6 separate regions of the Homo sapiens genome follow, and regions 2, 3, 4, 5 and 6 are each linked to region 1. Evidence: promoter capture Hi-C in human tissues and cell types (Jung and others, 2019). All regions are on one chromosome and are shown on one strand. The core of a region is centred on a gene start or on the middle of the fragment in contact, and the rest is flanking DNA. Distances in the headings are between cores, read along the strand shown.

What was found. Contacts are between HindIII fragments. The study calls those that stand out against the background at their distance.
Region 2: a fragment that was not itself captured here is called in contact with the fragment with the promoter of HOXB1 in region 1 in 2 of the 25 tissues and cell types used here (lymphoblastoid cells and mesenchymal stem cells).
Region 3: a contact is called between a fragment that was not itself captured here and the fragment with the promoter of HOXB1 in region 1, in 3 of the 25 tissues and cell types used here (dorsolateral prefrontal cortex, spleen and thymus).
Region 4: a contact is called between the fragment with the promoter of COPZ2 here and the fragment with the promoter of HOXB1 in region 1, in 1 of the 25 tissues and cell types used here (lymphoblastoid cells).
Region 5: a contact is called between the fragment with the promoter of CBX1 here and the fragment with the promoter of HOXB1 in region 1, in 2 of the 25 tissues and cell types used here (heart left ventricle and lymphoblastoid cells).
Region 6: a fragment that was not itself captured here is called in contact with the fragment with the promoter of HOXB1 in region 1 in 2 of the 25 tissues and cell types used here (adrenal gland and bladder).

What each region holds. Positions count from the first base shown.
Region 1 is chr17:48,529,609-48,532,389 of GRCh38, reverse strand. It overlaps HOXB1 (homeobox B1), which reads left to right and starts at 1,379. Exons shown (of 2, transcript NM_002144.4): 1 at 1,379-2,062; 2 at 2,515-2,781. The coding sequence starts at 1,486. RefSeq lists an enhancer at 909-1,489. The HindIII fragment of the contact is 7,824 bases long and covers 1-2,781 here.
Region 2 is chr17:48,239,566-48,242,265 of GRCh38, reverse strand. The region is part of intron 4 of SKAP1 (src kinase associated phosphoprotein 1); the gene reads left to right. Among named protein-coding and RNA genes, the nearest start is that of SKAP1-AS2, 53 kb to the left of the region's middle. The HindIII fragment of the contact is 4,655 bases long and covers 1-2,700 here.
Region 3 is chr17:48,218,136-48,220,835 of GRCh38, reverse strand. The region is part of intron 4 of SKAP1 (src kinase associated phosphoprotein 1); the gene reads left to right. Among named protein-coding and RNA genes, the nearest start is that of MIR1203, 63 kb to the right of the region's middle. RefSeq lists an enhancer at 657-1,499. The HindIII fragment of the contact is 4,962 bases long and covers 1-2,700 here.
Region 4 is chr17:48,036,500-48,039,199 of GRCh38, reverse strand. It overlaps COPZ2 (coat protein complex I subunit zeta 2), which reads left to right and starts at 1,403. Exons shown (of 9, transcript NM_016429.4): 1 at 1,403-1,533; 2 at 2,275-2,349. The coding sequence starts at 1,423. It overlaps MIR152 (microRNA 152), which reads left to right and starts at 1,953; the gene lies at 1,953-2,039. RefSeq lists an enhancer at 237-286. The HindIII fragment of the contact is 11,602 bases long and covers 1-2,700 here.
Region 5 is chr17:48,100,051-48,102,797 of GRCh38, reverse strand. CBX1 (chromobox 1) reads left to right here and starts at 1,320. Exons shown (of 5, transcript NM_001127228.2): 1 at 1,320-1,530. RefSeq lists enhancers at 902-1,161, 988-1,587 and a silencer at 1,532-1,581. The HindIII fragment of the contact is 10,755 bases long and covers 1-2,747 here.
Region 6 is chr17:48,137,546-48,140,245 of GRCh38, reverse strand. The region is part of intron 11 of SKAP1 (src kinase associated phosphoprotein 1); the gene reads left to right. Among named protein-coding and RNA genes, the nearest start is that of MIR1203, 18 kb to the left of the region's middle. The HindIII fragment of the contact is 8,333 bases long and covers 1-2,700 here.

The DNA of each region.
Region 1 (2,781 bases), core at 130-2,629:
AAGGGCTTCTCTTCTAGTCCCATCTGGGTTTGGAGTCTGAGAGAGTGAAGAAGACACATCCTGTGTCCCTCCGCAACAGCCACACAGAACAAAAAGGGGCGAGACTCCACTCCTCACTCTGGAGTCTTAGAATTCAGAGCCTCAGGGCCTCCACCCCGATTCTCCCACTCTCTGACCAAACTCCCTTTATCAATCCTAGAAAAATTACTGAAATCTGGAGGAATCTTTAAGATTTAACTGGTATTAAATTTATGCATTTGAGGTTTGGAAATTTTTTTTTTTTGGAAGGAGATGGAGGGTGGTGAAGGAGAGACAGGTAGGAGGGAACCAGGAGAATGCAGGTCTCCACTAGTTTTAAACACTTCAAGAAGAGAATAAAAAATTCCCCTCCTCTTCACCCCGCTGTAAACATCACCTGGCTGTGCTCATTGTGGCTCTCTAGAGAGATATAGGGAGTTATTTAAGTCTGAGTGAGTGAGCCAGCTACAGCTATGGATGGCTAGAGAGAGGATAAATACATCTAGAGAGATGAGAGGTAGGGAACGAATATAAATATGGAGAAAGATGGACGAACAGAGAGATGGATTGAGACAGAGAGAATATAAAGAGAGGCTGAGGGAGAGAAATGGATGTGTGAATGAGGAGAGAACATTTATGCAAAGAGAGAGAGAGGGAAGATGGGGCATTTCTCATCCTTTTCTCCACATTTCTGTAGTCCTGCCTTGCTCCCTGAAATGCCAATTTCCCACCCCTGGCTTCATGAATTCTTCCTCTAGATTCTAGATCCTGCCCCACACCCTTAGGTGTTTTTGCACCACCTTCCCCCACCTCCCCACCACACAGTCATCCATTTGGCCCAAGATAACATACCTCACCCGGCTGTCCTAGCCCACCACCCTAAGACAAATTGGAAGAAAGGAACATGGTTTGGGAGTTCTGGGCAAAGTATGGAAGCTGGATTCCCCACCTCCAGGTCCACAGACTTAGGGGGAAGGTTTCTCTGAGGGGTGGGAAGAGTGAGGGGCAGCTGGCTTGAATTTGTCCAAATCTAATAACCCAGGAGCCTATTGAAGGCCTTGGGGGTTGGGAGGGAAGGAAAGTCTTGAATATTCTCCTAACTTTTTCCCCCTCTCCCTCTGGTCCCTTCTTTCCAAAAGTCTTTGAAGAAAGATGTTTTTGACGCTTCCATGTCGCTCTCAGATGGATGGGCTGCGGGTGATTGAAGTGTCTTTGTCATGCTAATGCTTGGGGGGTGATGGATGGGCGCTGGGGCTGCCAAACTCTGGCCCGCTTAGCCCATTGGCCTGGGAGAGATCACATGTGCCCCCTCACCCCCACTCCCTACCCCCTTCCTAGGGAAGCGCTTGCCCAGGCGAGCGGGTCAGGCCATGGATTCGAGCCCCAGCGCTGTGACATACTGCCGAAAGGTTGTAGGGCAAGAGGGTGTCTCCCCCAAACGGGCCGACCCTCCTGCGGCCTTGACGCATGGACTATAATAGGATGAACTCCTTCTTAGAGTACCCACTCTGTAACCGGGGACCCAGCGCCTACAGCGCCCACAGCGCCCCAACCTCCTTTCCCCCAAGCTCGGCTCAGGCGGTTGACAGCTATGCAAGCGAGGGCCGCTACGGTGGGGGGCTGTCCAGCCCTGCGTTTCAGCAGAACTCCGGCTATCCCGCCCAGCAGCCGCCTTCGACCCTGGGGGTGCCCTTCCCCAGCTCCGCGCCCTCGGGGTATGCTCCTGCCGCCTGCAGCCCCAGCTACGGGCCTTCTCAGTACTACCCTCTGGGTCAATCAGAAGGAGACGGAGGCTATTTTCATCCCTCGAGCTACGGGGCCCAGCTAGGGGGCTTGTCCGATGGCTACGGAGCAGGTGGAGCCGGTCCGGGGCCATATCCTCCGCAGCATCCCCCTTATGGGAACGAGCAGACCGCGAGCTTTGCACCGGCCTATGCTGATCTCCTCTCCGAGGACAAGGAAACACCCTGCCCTTCAGAACCTAACACCCCCACGGCCCGGACCTTCGACTGGATGAAGGTTAAGAGAAACCCACCCAAGACAGGTAGGGCTCAGATGTGGCCACCCCTTCTCCGGGGCCCAAAGCATCTCTGCTTCCCCTGCAGTGACATGTCCTGGGTCTGGGCTGGGTTCTTCTCTTTCAGCGGCTCTGGTAGACACAGGTAAGAGCACAACCTACGTCTCAGGTCAGGTGAGGTCTCCCCACCCAGTATGTAACCGGTCACCCCAGGAGTAAGTTTCCATACACACCCCACTTCCTGATCTGTGCACCCAGCACAGACCCAGGACCTGGTGTGCATGGGGGATGGAAGTATGGGGAAGGCTGCTCCAGACTTGGTGATCACCATGGGGGTACCTGGTGGTCCCTGGGAACTTTGACAACTGTACTTGGGCAGAATGGCAAATGGAGGTCCAGAGCCAGCCCCGGGAGGAGGGAAGCGGAAGGAGAAAGAGGTGAGAGAATTGACCTGGCCTTTCTCCCTGCCCCGCCCCTAGCGAAGGTGTCAGAGCCAGGCCTGGGCTCGCCCAGTGGCCTCCGCACCAACTTCACCACAAGGCAGCTGACAGAACTGGAAAAGGAGTTCCATTTCAACAAGTACCTGAGCCGGGCCCGGAGGGTGGAGATTGCCGCCACCCTGGAGCTCAATGAAACACAGGTCAAGATTTGGTTCCAGAACCGACGAATGAAGCAGAAGAAGCGCGAGCGAGAGGAAGGTCGGGTCCCCCCAGCCCCACCAGGCTGCCCCAAGGAGGCAGCTGGAG
Region 2 (2,700 bases), core at 13-2,512, 290 kb after region 1:
TTCATTCCCTGGGCTACCAAGGCACTTAATACAGCTAATTCAGTTAAAGAAGCCCGAGGGGTGAGGTGGATGAGCCTCTTTCCCTGCTGGAAGCCAGATGCCAGGCAGGTTAGTGATATTGCTTTATCCCTTCCCCCAGGTAAAGCTTCCAGGAGAAGCAGTTACTGCAAACGCAGAGAAAAATAATAAGAAAATGCTTCTAGTGTTGTTGGACTCAGTTCTCCTTCAAGCAGGAAATGCTGTCTTAACTCAACCTCATTAACCCCTTTGATACTAAGCCCATTATCAGGAATATTCAGGAAGCACATTCTTTCAGAATTCAGGATGTGTCAGGAGCCTTGATATCTTGACATCATTGTACAAAACTACCAGCAAAGAATGGAAAGTAAGAGAATAAGTGCTTTTGGGACAGGTAACTAAAAATGGAAAAAACTCCCAGTTTGGAAGATTATATCTGTTACTGCTGGGTTCAGAAATATTTTGAAAAGACACCAGAATTAAGTATATTTAGAATCACTTTATCAATCATGTATCATTTCTACTATTAGATGTTTTATAGTGAAAAGAATGTTGGAATGTTTCTTTGGCTGGTGAAAGTTTTAAGCATGGTTTTAGATCTGTTTTGTTTTGCTTTGTTAGGCCTTCCCCGAGAGAGGAAGAGTATTAAATATAGACTTATCTGCATGATCCATGTGAGGCATCTGGGTCTGCTTTTTGTGTCAGCTGAGGCACAAATGTGCATGATTTAACCATACAACTATTGAACTAGCATTGGCCTATTAAGACTTCAGATGATCTGTTCATGAGCTGTCAGCCCAAATTGAGCTTGAAGCCTGCTGTAAAAGATCTAATTTTCATAATTATCCAGAACCTTCACACCCTGCTTCCCTTCAGTACCACCCACCTCCACACATGCACACAGAGGAGTAAACACATACATATGGACACAGAGACACAGGGCAGCACTGTCCCTGGAGATTCATCAGGCCTCTTGCCCGAAAATGCAGAGTTCATCCAGGGGTCAGAACTGGCTTTGACTTCCTGTTTGAGGAGCCCCATGTGTGGTGTTCCAGCATTGCTAGAGGCTAGTGATGACTAAGTAACCTTTTCACACTATAGCCTCCCACCAAGAAACAAGGTCCCTTATGATCTTGGACCCAGAGTGATTAGGGCACAACAAATATCTTTTTAATATATAAGGTGGAACTAATGCCAGTAGAAATAGCACTTTGCTGTCTCATGGCCTCACATTTATAAAAAGAGGATAGAGCTGTTGTCTTTGAAGATGAAGAATTTTAAAGGCAACCTGATTTAGTCTCAGAGTACACTAGGGACTTTCATCGTTTAGTAGTTGCTTAAGGCTAACTTTGAGCTTTACCTGACCCAAGTCTTCAAAGGAAGCCATCATACTATGTGTGGAGTTCAGCTGGTAATATCTTTCTAGGTAATCTGGATTGTGAACGAGTGGGAACAGGCAGCACTTTCAGGTTTAACTCTTTGCAGCACTGGGATAACTGGCACATGCTTCAAGGATTAGGTCATTCTGATGTCCCTCCAGTAATTCCACTGGAACAACACTGCACAATAAACCATTTGGTTTCTGGACATATATTGCCCATGTGTGAAGGGTGGACAGGCAGCACTTTACTAGGTTCTTCTCATACAACCTCAGGTTTTTGAGGCTGCTGAGGTTTAAATCCCTTGTCTGAATATGGGACAACTGTATTTCTATACTGGTTGTCGATTGTCTTTGCCCTCAGAGGGCATTTGCTGCAACTCAGGGTTCTACAGTTAGAATAAAAGGAGTTATTTCCTGTCTTCACTGCTTTTTTGCTTTTTTTTATTTTTTTATCATGAGTGGAGACTGAGTACATTACTCAAACCTTGGCTTTTCCCTGAGGTCCGTTGTTTACAGAGAGACATTTGGGTCCCTGGGGCTCACTCCCATAAAATCTTATTATCATATATTTCAAGGCATAAACTTCAGTTGTCAGCTCAGGAGCAGTTCTGAAAGCACTGGCTGCTCTTGTTTTTCTTCTCCTTTACTCTGGTTTATTTTTCTTGCAGCTTTGGCTTTTTTTTTTCCCTTCTCCCTCATATCTAGCAATGCTCAATTCCAAGCTGGCTCGCTCCTTATTCCACTAATTAGACAAGAAGTCCAGAGAGGCCATTATTAGATTCTGAGAATCTTTATCAGAGCCCATTATGGCCTTAAATACTGCACAAACATTTTACTAACTGAATCCATGAACATTTCAGCTGATCCACCTTTGGTCTTTAACATCTACCTTCTTTTGTACCTATAGAGTTATGTTACTGATGATAGAGGTTCTCAACAGCTTATTTTTCTTTGTATTAATTTTCTTAGAGGCCATGATTCAAGTTCATTCTCTCTCTCTCTCTCTCTCTCTCTCTGTCTCTCTCTCTCTCTCTCTCATTCTAATTACTGTTGGTGGGGGTGGAGGGGGTCTGAGAAGCCTGCTTTTCCTTGGTGAGATACGTGTGAGTATGTGTAATGTCATATGTGTTAATGTCACCAGTGAGTAGGATTCATGGTTGCCTGTTTTTCTCTCATTTTCTTTACAGAGCCAGGGATTATTTGTATGGACCAATGGTCTCAGTTTTCTTTCAATGGAAGAATAATTCTGCATTATAATATAGTAACTGCAAAAGAAAGCTTTTTCTATTTCACTCTTTTCT
Region 3 (2,700 bases), core at 56-2,555, 310 kb after region 1:
TGTCACCCAGGCTGGAGTGCAGTGGCGCAATCTGGGCTTATTGCAACCTCCACCTCCTGGGTTCAAGCGATTCTTGTGCCTCAGCCTCCCAAGTAGCTGGGATTACAGGCATGTGCAACCACGCCCGGCTTTTGTATTTTCAGTAGAAACAGGGTTCCACCATGTTGGCCATGCTGGTCTCAAACTCCTGACCTCAAGTGATCCTTCCACCTCAGCCTCCCAAAGTGCTGGGATTACAGGCGTGAGCCACTGCACCTGGCCTGAAACTTCTCTTTATGCCCCGTCCCAGTTATCTCCACCAAAATAACTACTATTCTGACTTCTATCACCAGATTAATTTTGCCTATACTTGAACTTCATATGAACAGATTCATACTATATATACTTTTGTGTGTCTGGACTCTTTCATTTAGCATTATATTTGTGAGGATTGTCCGTGTTTTTGCATGTAGCAAAACACATGTAGTTCCTTTGTTCTCATTACTATATAGTATTTCCTTTATTCATTTTATTTCATTCTATGGTAGGTAAACGTATGGTTTTTTTCTGCTTTGGAAATATTGTAAATAATGCTGTTGTGAACAATCTTATATCAGACTTTTGGAGCACCACTATGTTGGCATTTCTGTTTGGTATATAGCTAGGAGAGGAATTGCTGAATTAGAGGGTATGTGCGTATTCCGCTTTAGGAGATTCTACCAAACATTTTTCCAACAGACTTGTACCATTTTTACTCCCACCAACAATGTGTGAAAATTCCAGTTGCTCCTCATTCTCACTGATACTTGGTATTGTCAGTGTTTCTTAATTTTAGCAATTCTGGTGGGTGGCTGTAGTAGTTTCTTCAATTGAAATAAACCAGCTGCCTGGAGGGATTAGGTCTCTGAAAATATCCTTTTTTCCTGCTTCCATTGTACATTTGCCAGTGGATCACAGGAACATCTCCTCTGTGAGGAACAAAGTGGTAGCCTAGCCCTCATTTGCATGACTTTGAACTGTTATCTGTGGCTGCTGTAGCTTCTAGCCAGAGCAGACTGGGAGACACCGTGTGCAGCCAGATAACCTTTTCTTGTTCATTAAGGGCCCACTTAGCTCTCCATGGGGGTGCAGCAGACAGCCTAGAAAAGCAGGTAATGACTTTATGACTATATAATGCTAATTTCATCAATAATAATTCTAAGAGGAAAAAACCCAGAATTTAAATAACTGGGTTATGGTACCAACACACAAAAGTATGAAAGTCAGGTTGAGGACAGCTGTACTTGTTTTTGCAACTAACATTAACTGACATGACCCTATTCTCCATAATATGTATTCAGAGAGACTTTTAAACTGGATGCTGAAATCTAGAGGGGGAAGGGTTTAATTGCCTTGAAGTGTTTTGAAAATACTAACCAATAAACAGTCATATTAGAAATAGGCAGAACTGGTGCTTTATTTGAGGCTGGACATATAAGAGTTTCAAAAAGGTTTGTGGATGATAATTCCTCTCCTTTTGTCAGCAAGAAGTTCAAGTTCAGTGGCCAGTTTTTTTGCCAATGAGAAGTGAATAGTACAACTGACTTTTAAAATCAAATGTCACATTCCACATGGTTCCCACCTGGGTTTTAGTTTCTCAACAATGGAATACAATTTTCAATAAATCTAGAGATAAAAATTCTGCCCAAGTAACCTCATTAATATTGAGGGGACTCTTCTCTATTGGAAATCTGTGTGTTTTGTTCAAAAAATTGGAAGCAAAGAACTCTTTCAGGTTAATTCTAGAGATTCCAAAATTAAACATATACTATTAGATAAATACTAATAGGAAATTAGGTTGTTATATTTTTTCTATTTCTCTTTCTTAATCTGCCTTTCTCTTTATTCCCACTGTAAAATGTGTGCATGTTTATTCCTTTCTACTCTTCATGTTCTGATTTCACATGGCCACCCCATGAGGGTTTTTTTTTTAACAATCTGAAACCCCCAAAATATTGAATTATTATGGAAACAAGGTGCAGTATTTCAAGCATCACCCTACAATAGAAGTAACAGGATAATGATTTTCTTTCTCAGTTCAGATATTAGAGGCCCAAGTATTGATTGCCTGTTTCTTTTGCCTCCTGTGCTCTGATGAAACTACACTTTTGACACAAAGTCACAATAAAATGTGCCCTTTCCAGTATGAGATCTCTGTAAATGTCATTCACACAGTCATTGTTTTCTAATTCTTTGCATTTTCATCAGAGTAGCACACAAGCTCTTCGTTGAGTGGAGACAGAGCAAGCAGTGTTTAAATTTAGAATTCACTAGAACAACCAAGTTCCATTATTTTGCTAAGGACAGTTACAGTCTAATAATAGGACTCCTTTTCCATAGTGTTTATGAAATTATTATTCTTAGAATTGATTAAGTGATGAGGACTTTGATAACTAGAGGTTTCATGAAATGCTGTTGGGAATATTGATGTTGGGTTTGCCAGGCAAAGAGAGGTTGTAAAATCAGTGTGAATGTCAGTGTTTATGGATGAGAAGGGTTGGTTGGTAACATAAGCTGAAGCCAAGCTGGAGACCTAGAGGAAATGGCTGCTTCCCTAACCCAACTCTGCCAGCTAGTCTTCCTCCTGACCTGCAACATTCTTACTGTCTCAGCCCCAGGTCTCTGATCCTAGCTGTTAGCAAATGATTTGTGATTTTGTTTAAGGATAAATATCAGTGGTAG
Region 4 (2,700 bases), core at 154-2,653, 490 kb after region 1:
TGAGCCCAGACTTGAGACCTTGTTTCTACAAAAATAAAAAAAATAAAAAAATAAAAAATTACCTGGGAGTGGTTGCATGCACCAGTGGTCCCAGCTACTCGGGAGACTGAGATGGGAGGATTGCCTGAGCCCAGGAGGTTGAGGCTGCAGTGAGCCCAGATCGAGTCACTGCACTCCAGCCTGGGCAACAGAGTGAGACCGTGTCTCAAACAAGCAATATTAGTAAAAATAATATTTAGAGATTGAAAAAAGTGCAATGAAAGAAAGAAATAGGAACTGAGAGAATGTGACAGGAGAGACCTATCAAGTCAGATATGGTGGCTGTCAGGAGGACCTTTTGGTAATTATATTTCAGCAGAGGCTTGAAGATAAGAAGACTTGATGCATTCAGTGAGGAAAACCCCATTCTGTAACCATCTAGGGTAAGTGACTGTGGTCCACAACATAAGAGGGCTTGAAGAGAAGAATAGGGAAGAAATTTTGAGTCAAAAATCTGGGTTCTATCCCCAGTCAACTAGCTGTATAGTCTTGAAAAGGTCACACAACCTCTGAGTCTCTCTTTGCTTAAAATGAGGGTCCATTATGCCTATCTTACAGGTGTGGGCTATATTAGATAATGGATGTGAAGGTGTCAAATGTAAAATACACGCACAGTGTTTTTACCGGTAAATGCATACGTAGCACTAACATATCACTGGGATGTGAATTTCCCACTTGCCAGTGTACCCTGAAATGAGAGCTTGTCTTAGTTAGACTTAGACCAAAGAAACCAAAACATGCTGCAAAGCCCGATGTCATTGGTGGAGCATTTGTGCTGCTGGGCGTCTGTCTTGCTTCTGATGGTGCCATATCTGTGACTTAGGAGAGCCTGGGGAGGTGTCTCCGGGCCCATGGTTGCCTTCTGCAAGTAGTGAGAGAGGAATGAGAAAGCCTCTTCACAGAGGGGTGTCCCCAGAACTGTCCTCATTTGCTCTTGCTTATAGACCCTGTCCCTGAGATCTAAAGGGTGACCTGACGTATTTGTCCTCATGGTACCTACCAGAGGTCAACAGACAAAAGTGGGCTTTGCTTGTGTTTGCTGCTGGCCCCAGGACAGCCTATAGACACTGGCGCACACCAAAGCCACAGGCCGGAGAGCAGGCAGGAAGCAGGACGAGGGCTGGTCTTGGGGCACCCTGAGGATGCAGAGTTCGGGGATGTAAGGGACTCGGGAAGGAGCCAAGGAGGAGAGAGGGAGAGGAGAAGTGGGGGAAGGAGAGGTGGGGTGAGGGCGGGAGGGGAGATGGGGGAGAACGAGCAAGAGGACGGGGCCCCGAGGAAAGGGAGGCCACGCGCGAGAGGGGGCCGCGGGGCGGCGCGGAGGCGGGGCGGCGGCGGCGGGCAGGCGGCGGGCGGCGCTGTCAGTGCGAGGCGGCGAGCGGAATGCAGCGGCCCGAGGCCTGGCCACGTCCGCACCCGGGGGAGGGGGCCGCGGCGGCCCAGGCCGGGGGCCCGGCGCCGCCTGCTCGAGCCGGGGAGCCCTCGGGGCTGCGGGTACGGAGCGGGCGGGCGCGGGGATCCCGGGCGGCGGGAGCTGGGCAGGGACAGAGCAGGGTTAGGGGGAGCAGCCAACTCAGAACTCGCGCGCCCGGCGGCTGGGAACTTTGTGTCACCCCTGACTGGCCCCAGGACCCGGGAGGAAAAGTTCGTCCCAGCGCCGACCGGAGAGGAGGCCTGTCCTGAGTCCGTCGGCGCGGGGCTGAAGTTCTGGGTCCGTTTGGAGTGGGGGTGGCGGGTGAGTTGCGATTCCGCGGGGAGGGTAAGGAGTGGCCTGTCCGTCCCAGACTCGGCTCCCATCACCGGTGGGTGATGGGCATGCTTCTGGAGTCTACCCGGGCCAGGGCCTGGGGGCGCGCTGATAGCGCAGGTCCAGCCCGGCCAGGGATCAGCTGGAAGAAGGAGGCTCGGCCCGCTGTCCCCCCCGGCCCAGGTTCTGTGATACACTCCGACTCGGGCTCTGGAGCAGTCAGTGCATGACAGAACTTGGGCCCGGAAGGACCTTCTGCACCCAACGGGCACAGCGCCCACTCGGGGCCTGCAGTGGAACATCTGCCTGGGAGTGGAGTGGGCACCTGGGTTGGCCCATGTGGCACAGGGCTGGGCAGAACCAGCTGTGGACCTTGAGGACTGGGGTTGCTGGGGCCTGAGGATGTATCCTAGGGCCAGCAGATCCCATAGACACAGGGTGTCCACCTCGAGTCAGGGGCCAAACGGAACTCTCCTCTCCGGTGTCAGTTGCAGGAACCTTCCCTCTACACCATCAAGGCTGTTTTCATCCTAGATAATGACGGGCGCCGGCTGCTGGCCAAGGTAACCTCTGACCCCACCCATGAGGGACACAGTTCCCACTCAGCTGACACTCCTGTCTCAGGAGAAACTCCACTGTGATCTCTGTGACTCAGGGCAGCTCAGCTTAGACCCCTCCAGAGGTCCTTCTCATCCTCCTGCCTTGTCAAGGTGCTGCTCCCTGAAATGAGGGGTCTCCTCTATTTCTACTCATGTTCCCTGAAATGTTTCCTTATCATCCTGCTACTGGCCAGTTGGACCTGGGCATGGGAAGGTTCTGCCTAATGGGTCAGTGGAGTGTTGAGCCTGGGACCCAGGAGTCTTAGTCCCCAAACCCCCACACAAGTTCTTTTGTTCTTTGGGGTTTGTCTCTAA
Region 5 (2,747 bases), core at 71-2,570, 430 kb after region 1:
TAGAGTGCAATAGAGTTTCCCTCTTCCTCCTGATTAGAAGGATACTTTAAAATAAAAAAATAAAACTTTAGTTATATTGTGGCTTAAAAACATGTTTTTTTCCTAATTGTGTGTTTCCTTGGGATGATTGGGTGAAAGGTGCTGACGGAGATTAATGACACTGAAAAAGGTGAGCACAACTTACAATGAAAAAGAGGACATTTTTGTGGCGCAGCCAGTGAAAAGGGGGAAATTCAGGAAGCTATGAGAGGCCTATGGGGGGACCTAACCTACTCTAGGGAATCAGGGAAGACCTCAAAGGGGAAGTAATCTTAACACTGAACAGTATTTTTTTTTTTAGACGAAGTTTCGCTCTTGTTGCCCAGGCTGGAGTGCAATGGCGCGATCTCGGCTCACTGTAACCTCCACCTCCTGGGTTCAAGCGATTCTCCTCCCTCAGCCTCCCGAGTAGCTGGCACTACAGGCGCCCGCCACGACGCCCAGCTAATTTTTGTATTTTAGTAGAGATGGGGTTTCACCATGTTGGCCAGGCTGGTCTTGAAACCCTGACCTCAAGTGATCCACCCACCTCCGCCTCCCCAAGTGTTGGGATTATAGGCTTGAGCCACCGTGCCGGCGTGAGTAGGAATTTTACAGAGATTTGAGGAGGCAGAGATTGAGGACTAAGAAATCATTGGAAATTTGAGGCAGCGGCGATATGATAAAGTTCTGGTGAAGAATCTAAGATTCAAAAATTTTGAGGATGTGAATTACAGAACTGTCCAGAAGTGGTTGATTTTTTGGGGGCCAAGCATCAGGGGGCTCGCTTATAAAAATCATATGTTCTAATTTTTTTTTTTTTTTTTTTTTGAGATGGAGTCTCGCTCCATCGCCCAGGCTGGATCGCAGTGGCTGGATCTCGGCTCACTGCAAGCTCCGCCTCCCAAGTTCAAGCAATTCTTGTCTCAGCCTCCTGAGTAGCTGGGACTACAGGCACCTGCCACCACGCTCGGCTAATTTTTGCATTTTTAGTAGAGACAGGGTTTCACCTTGTTGGTAAGACTGGTCTCGAACCCCTGACCTCAGGTGATCCACCCGCCTCGGCCTCCCAAAGTGCTGGGATGACAGGCGTGAGCGACTGCCCCTGGCCCATATGTTCTAATATTCTAGGTTACAACGCTCTACGCTGCAATCTCTCCACCGTTACAGTTTAAAAACTATAAGTCCCTACCACCCTCGCCTACTGTGCGTGCGCGGCGCGCGGCGCTTCGGGCCTTGTAGTCTTGGACAGACCCCCGAGGCCCATGGTGCCGTGCGGCGGGTCGTTGCGCCTGCGCGGTGCGAGCGGCGGGCAGCGCAGACTGCGAGGCTCTTTTGTTCGGCTGAGGGGAGGGCCGTTGGCCGGGGCCTGCGGTACGCCGCTTCAGTGAGGGACGCCACTGCGGCCACCCGGCTTGCTGCCTTCCTGGGCGCCACTCCCCCAGGCGACCCGACGCGACGCGCCAGCAGCGCAGCACCGATTCCTCTCGGGCTCTTGGGCGCTGCTCTGAGGTGAGGAGCCCGCTGGAGGCGGGAGAGCTGGGGGAGGGGGCGCGGCGGCGGCGGCGGCGGGAGCCCTGCGTGAGGGAACGCGCTTTCGAGGCGGAGGTTAGGAGCGGGGAGCGCGCCCGGGTCCAGCGTCCTGCTTCTCCGCTTCCCGCGCTGAGCTCTTCGCCTGTCGCTGAGGCGTCGGTGCCAGCTGCGTGAAGGATGGAGAGGGCGGGGCGCGAATCCTGAGCCAGAGACTGAGTGCTTGGGGGTGGGCCGAGCACTTGGGGGCCGCTCTTCGGGGCCCGGGTGGTCTGGAACAATGTTGCTTGGCTGGGCGGCTGCGGGATAGGGCGGAAGGGGACAGGCTTGAGGCTTGGATAGGCGTGAGGAGGCGCATACGACCGCACAACCCGAGGTTTGTAACTGTATTCGGAAGACGCCGGGTCCGGCTGGGACTGCCAGAGGAACCTGGCTTTGCAGGACTACGGAGGAGTAACGTCGAGTGAATTGGAAGAGGGCCCAGGGCCGCACAAGGTGTGCTGATTGGAGGAGGAGATGTGTGGAATAAATTGGGAAAGGGGACACGGAGGGGGAGGGGCAGGCGTTTGCTGGGCCTGACTCTGGAAGGGGAGGAGCTGTTAGGATAAGTAGGGCGGAGATCCCGAGAATATTTCTATAAGGTATGTAAGAAAAAAGGGGAAAGCAGGCCGCCCTTGCATCCTGATGGGTCCTTACAGTGGGGAGGCTGTAAGAATAATGTGCGAAGAAAGGATGGAATACGCTTTTTTCAGTTTTCCAGGTTTCCTACTACCTTCACTCCATGATTCCTTTGGGGAGTTAAAAAAGTCCAAGTGCAGTTCTTGCTTTGATTCAAAATTAGTTCCGTACGTTTTTGTGTGGGATCGTAACTGGTCTCACAAAGGTGATGAAATTGTAAAAATATGTAGATGAGTTAATAGTTGAGGAACGGCGTGAGGTAGTGAGAGATTGTGAGATCGTGTGAGGTGCGAGAAATTGGGAGACATAGGAAAATTATGTGAGATTGTGAGGTAATATTTGTTTCGTGGGCCCTTCTGTTTTTAGCCAGCTTTTCCTTGTTGGAAAATTTGAATAGAGTGAGCTATATTTTACCTCTTTTTTTTTTTTTTTTTGAGAAGAGTCTTCCTCTGTTGCCCAGGCTGGAGTGCAGTGGTGCGATCTTGGCTCACTGCAACCTCCACCTCCCGGATTCATGCGAT
Region 6 (2,700 bases), core at 28-2,527, 390 kb after region 1:
GGACTGAGAAGTGCTCAGGGAATTTGAGCAATGCAGAGGTTACAGGAGACCATGGAGAGAGAGCCTAAGTAGAGGACGGCAACCAAGCCTGATGAGAGCGGCTTCAACAGTGAACAGGAAGGAAGTTGGAGCAGTGAGTGAGTAAACTTTCCCAACAAGTGTGGCATAGACTAGAAGAAATGGGAAGTAGACATCAGTGGCAGCTATTTAATGGTTGTTTTAAAAAATGAGAGAAACTTGAACACCTTTCAGTGCTGGTGGAAGGAGCCATTTACTTTACAGGCAATGGTCAGTCTCCACAGAACCTCATCTCTCGGAAAGGAAGGAGGAGGGTTGCAAGTGCGTGTTGTGAGGGGTAGTCTTAAACCAGGGGAGGGGTGCTTCCCCGACTTTAATGGGAAAGAAAGATGGTTGTCAATACAGGTAAGTTCCTGCTTTGGTGGCTGGTGGCTGACAAATCTGATGGCTTCTCTTTTCCCTTTGAAGGTGGAGAAGAGGTTGTCAGAAGCAACATGAGTTTGAGGAGGGGAGATATTAGATATCATAATTCTATGATAATTATATGCATCCAGAGATAAAAAGATCACCAGATAATGCTAGGGACTCTGAATTTTACATATCACCAATCTGGTTTTACTTCTTTTGTTTTGTTTTTCCTAATAGTACTCAGCAACCAAGTGTACAAAGAAGCAGTTAGCTCTTTGGTACCCCAAATCCAATTGAACTGGAATATGTGATATTTCCCATACTTAAAATTTCATTCGGGGCCAGGCACGGTGGCTCATACCTGTAATCCCAGTACTTTGGGAGGCTGCGGCGGGTGGATGACGAGGTCAGGAGCTCAAGACCAGCCTGGCCAACATGGTGAAACCCCGTCTCTACTAAAAATACAAAAAATTAGCTGGGCGTGGTGGTGCACACCTGTAGTCCCAGCTACTCAGGAGGCTGAAGCAGAAGAATCGCTTGAACCCAGGAGGCAGAAGTTGCAGTGAGCTGAGATCTCACCACTGCACTCCAGACCGGGCAAAAGAGCGAGACTCCATCTCAAAAAAAAAAAAATTTATTTTGGCCAGGCACAGTGGCTCACACCTGTAATCCCAGCACTCTGAGAGGCCGAGGTGAGCAGATCACGAAGTCGGGAATTCGAGACCACCCTGGCCAACAGGGTGAAACACCGTCTTTACTAAAAATACAAAAATTAGCTGGGCGCAAGCCTGTAGTCCCAGCTACTCAGGAGGCTGAGGCAGGAAAATCATTTGAACCCAGGTGGTGGAGGTTGCAGTGACCCAAGATTGTGCCACTGCATTCCAGCCTGGGCAACAGAGTGAGACTCTGTCTCAAAAAAAAAAAATTTTTTTTTCATTCTAATTTTACTTCTTTCAAAAGAAAGAAAACATTTTCTGGTGCTATCAGAAATAGCCCCATACTCAGAGTGGGCACAGTGGCTCACGCCTGTAATCCCAGCACTTAGCAAGGCCGAGGCTGGTGGATCACTTGAGGTCAGGAGTTTGAGACCAGCCTGGCCAACATGATGAAACCCCATCTCTACCAACAATATAAAAAATTAGCCAGTTGTGGCCAGGCGCAGTGGCTCACGCTTGTAATCCCAGCACTTTGGGAGGCTGAGGCGGGTGGATCATCTGGGGTCAGAAGTTCAAGACCATCAAGGCCAACATGGTGAAACCCCATCTCTACTAAAAATAGAAAAATTAGCCGGGCGTGGTGGTGCGCGCCTGTAATCCCAGCTAATCGGGAGGCTGAGGCAGGAGAATCGCTTGAACCTGGGAGGTGGAGGTTGCAGTGAGCCGAGATTGCGCCACTGCACTCCAGCCTGGGAGACAGAGCCAGACTCTGTCTAAAAAAAAAAAAAAAAAATAGCCGGGTGTGATGGCACGCACCTGTAATCCCAGCTACTCAGGAGGTTGAGACAGGAGAATTGCTTGAACGTGGGAGCCGGAGGTTGCAGTGAGCTGAGATCTTGCCACTGCACTCCAGCCTGGGCGACAGTGCGAGACTCCGTCTCAAAAAAAAAAAAAGAAATAGCCCCATACTCTTCAACATCTGCTGTGCTTTTGAGAAGCTTTTCTGTATTCAAGGAGCTGCATCCTCACTCTGTGACTACCCCTTAAACTCTCTTTAAAACCCTCTCATCCTCTTTCTTGTTTGTTCCTCTCTGTGACTAGCCTGTCATTATTAATGTACCTGTCACCTCTCACCTGTTCTAGGGAAAGAATCTAATGTTTAGAGCATCTACTATGTATCAAACACTTTCAGTTGTTTTTACTTCAGTGATACAATTTACATCCCCACAAGATAGAAGGGAGATATTATCCCTACTCTCACAAAGAAGCTAAAGCTAGGAGAACCTAAGGTCATGTGACTACTAAATGACCAAGCGAGGATTAGATCTCAGTCTGTCTGACTCCAAAGCCCATTACTCTGCTGTAAGCTCCCAAGGAGCAAGCAATCTTCTGATTCATCATTACATACCTCATGGGAACTCAAACAGCACTTTGCACATAGAAGATGCTTGATAAATATTATTGATTTGAACTATGACTTGACCCCTTGAATATCTGTAGTGTTCTGGCAATTTAATGTGTGCCCAACTTTCTCTAAGAAGCCATACCATTCGGCTTGGTTTAAAAAAAAATGCTCTTCAGGTTCAGCAAGGGCATCAAATGTGCTAATTTTACAATG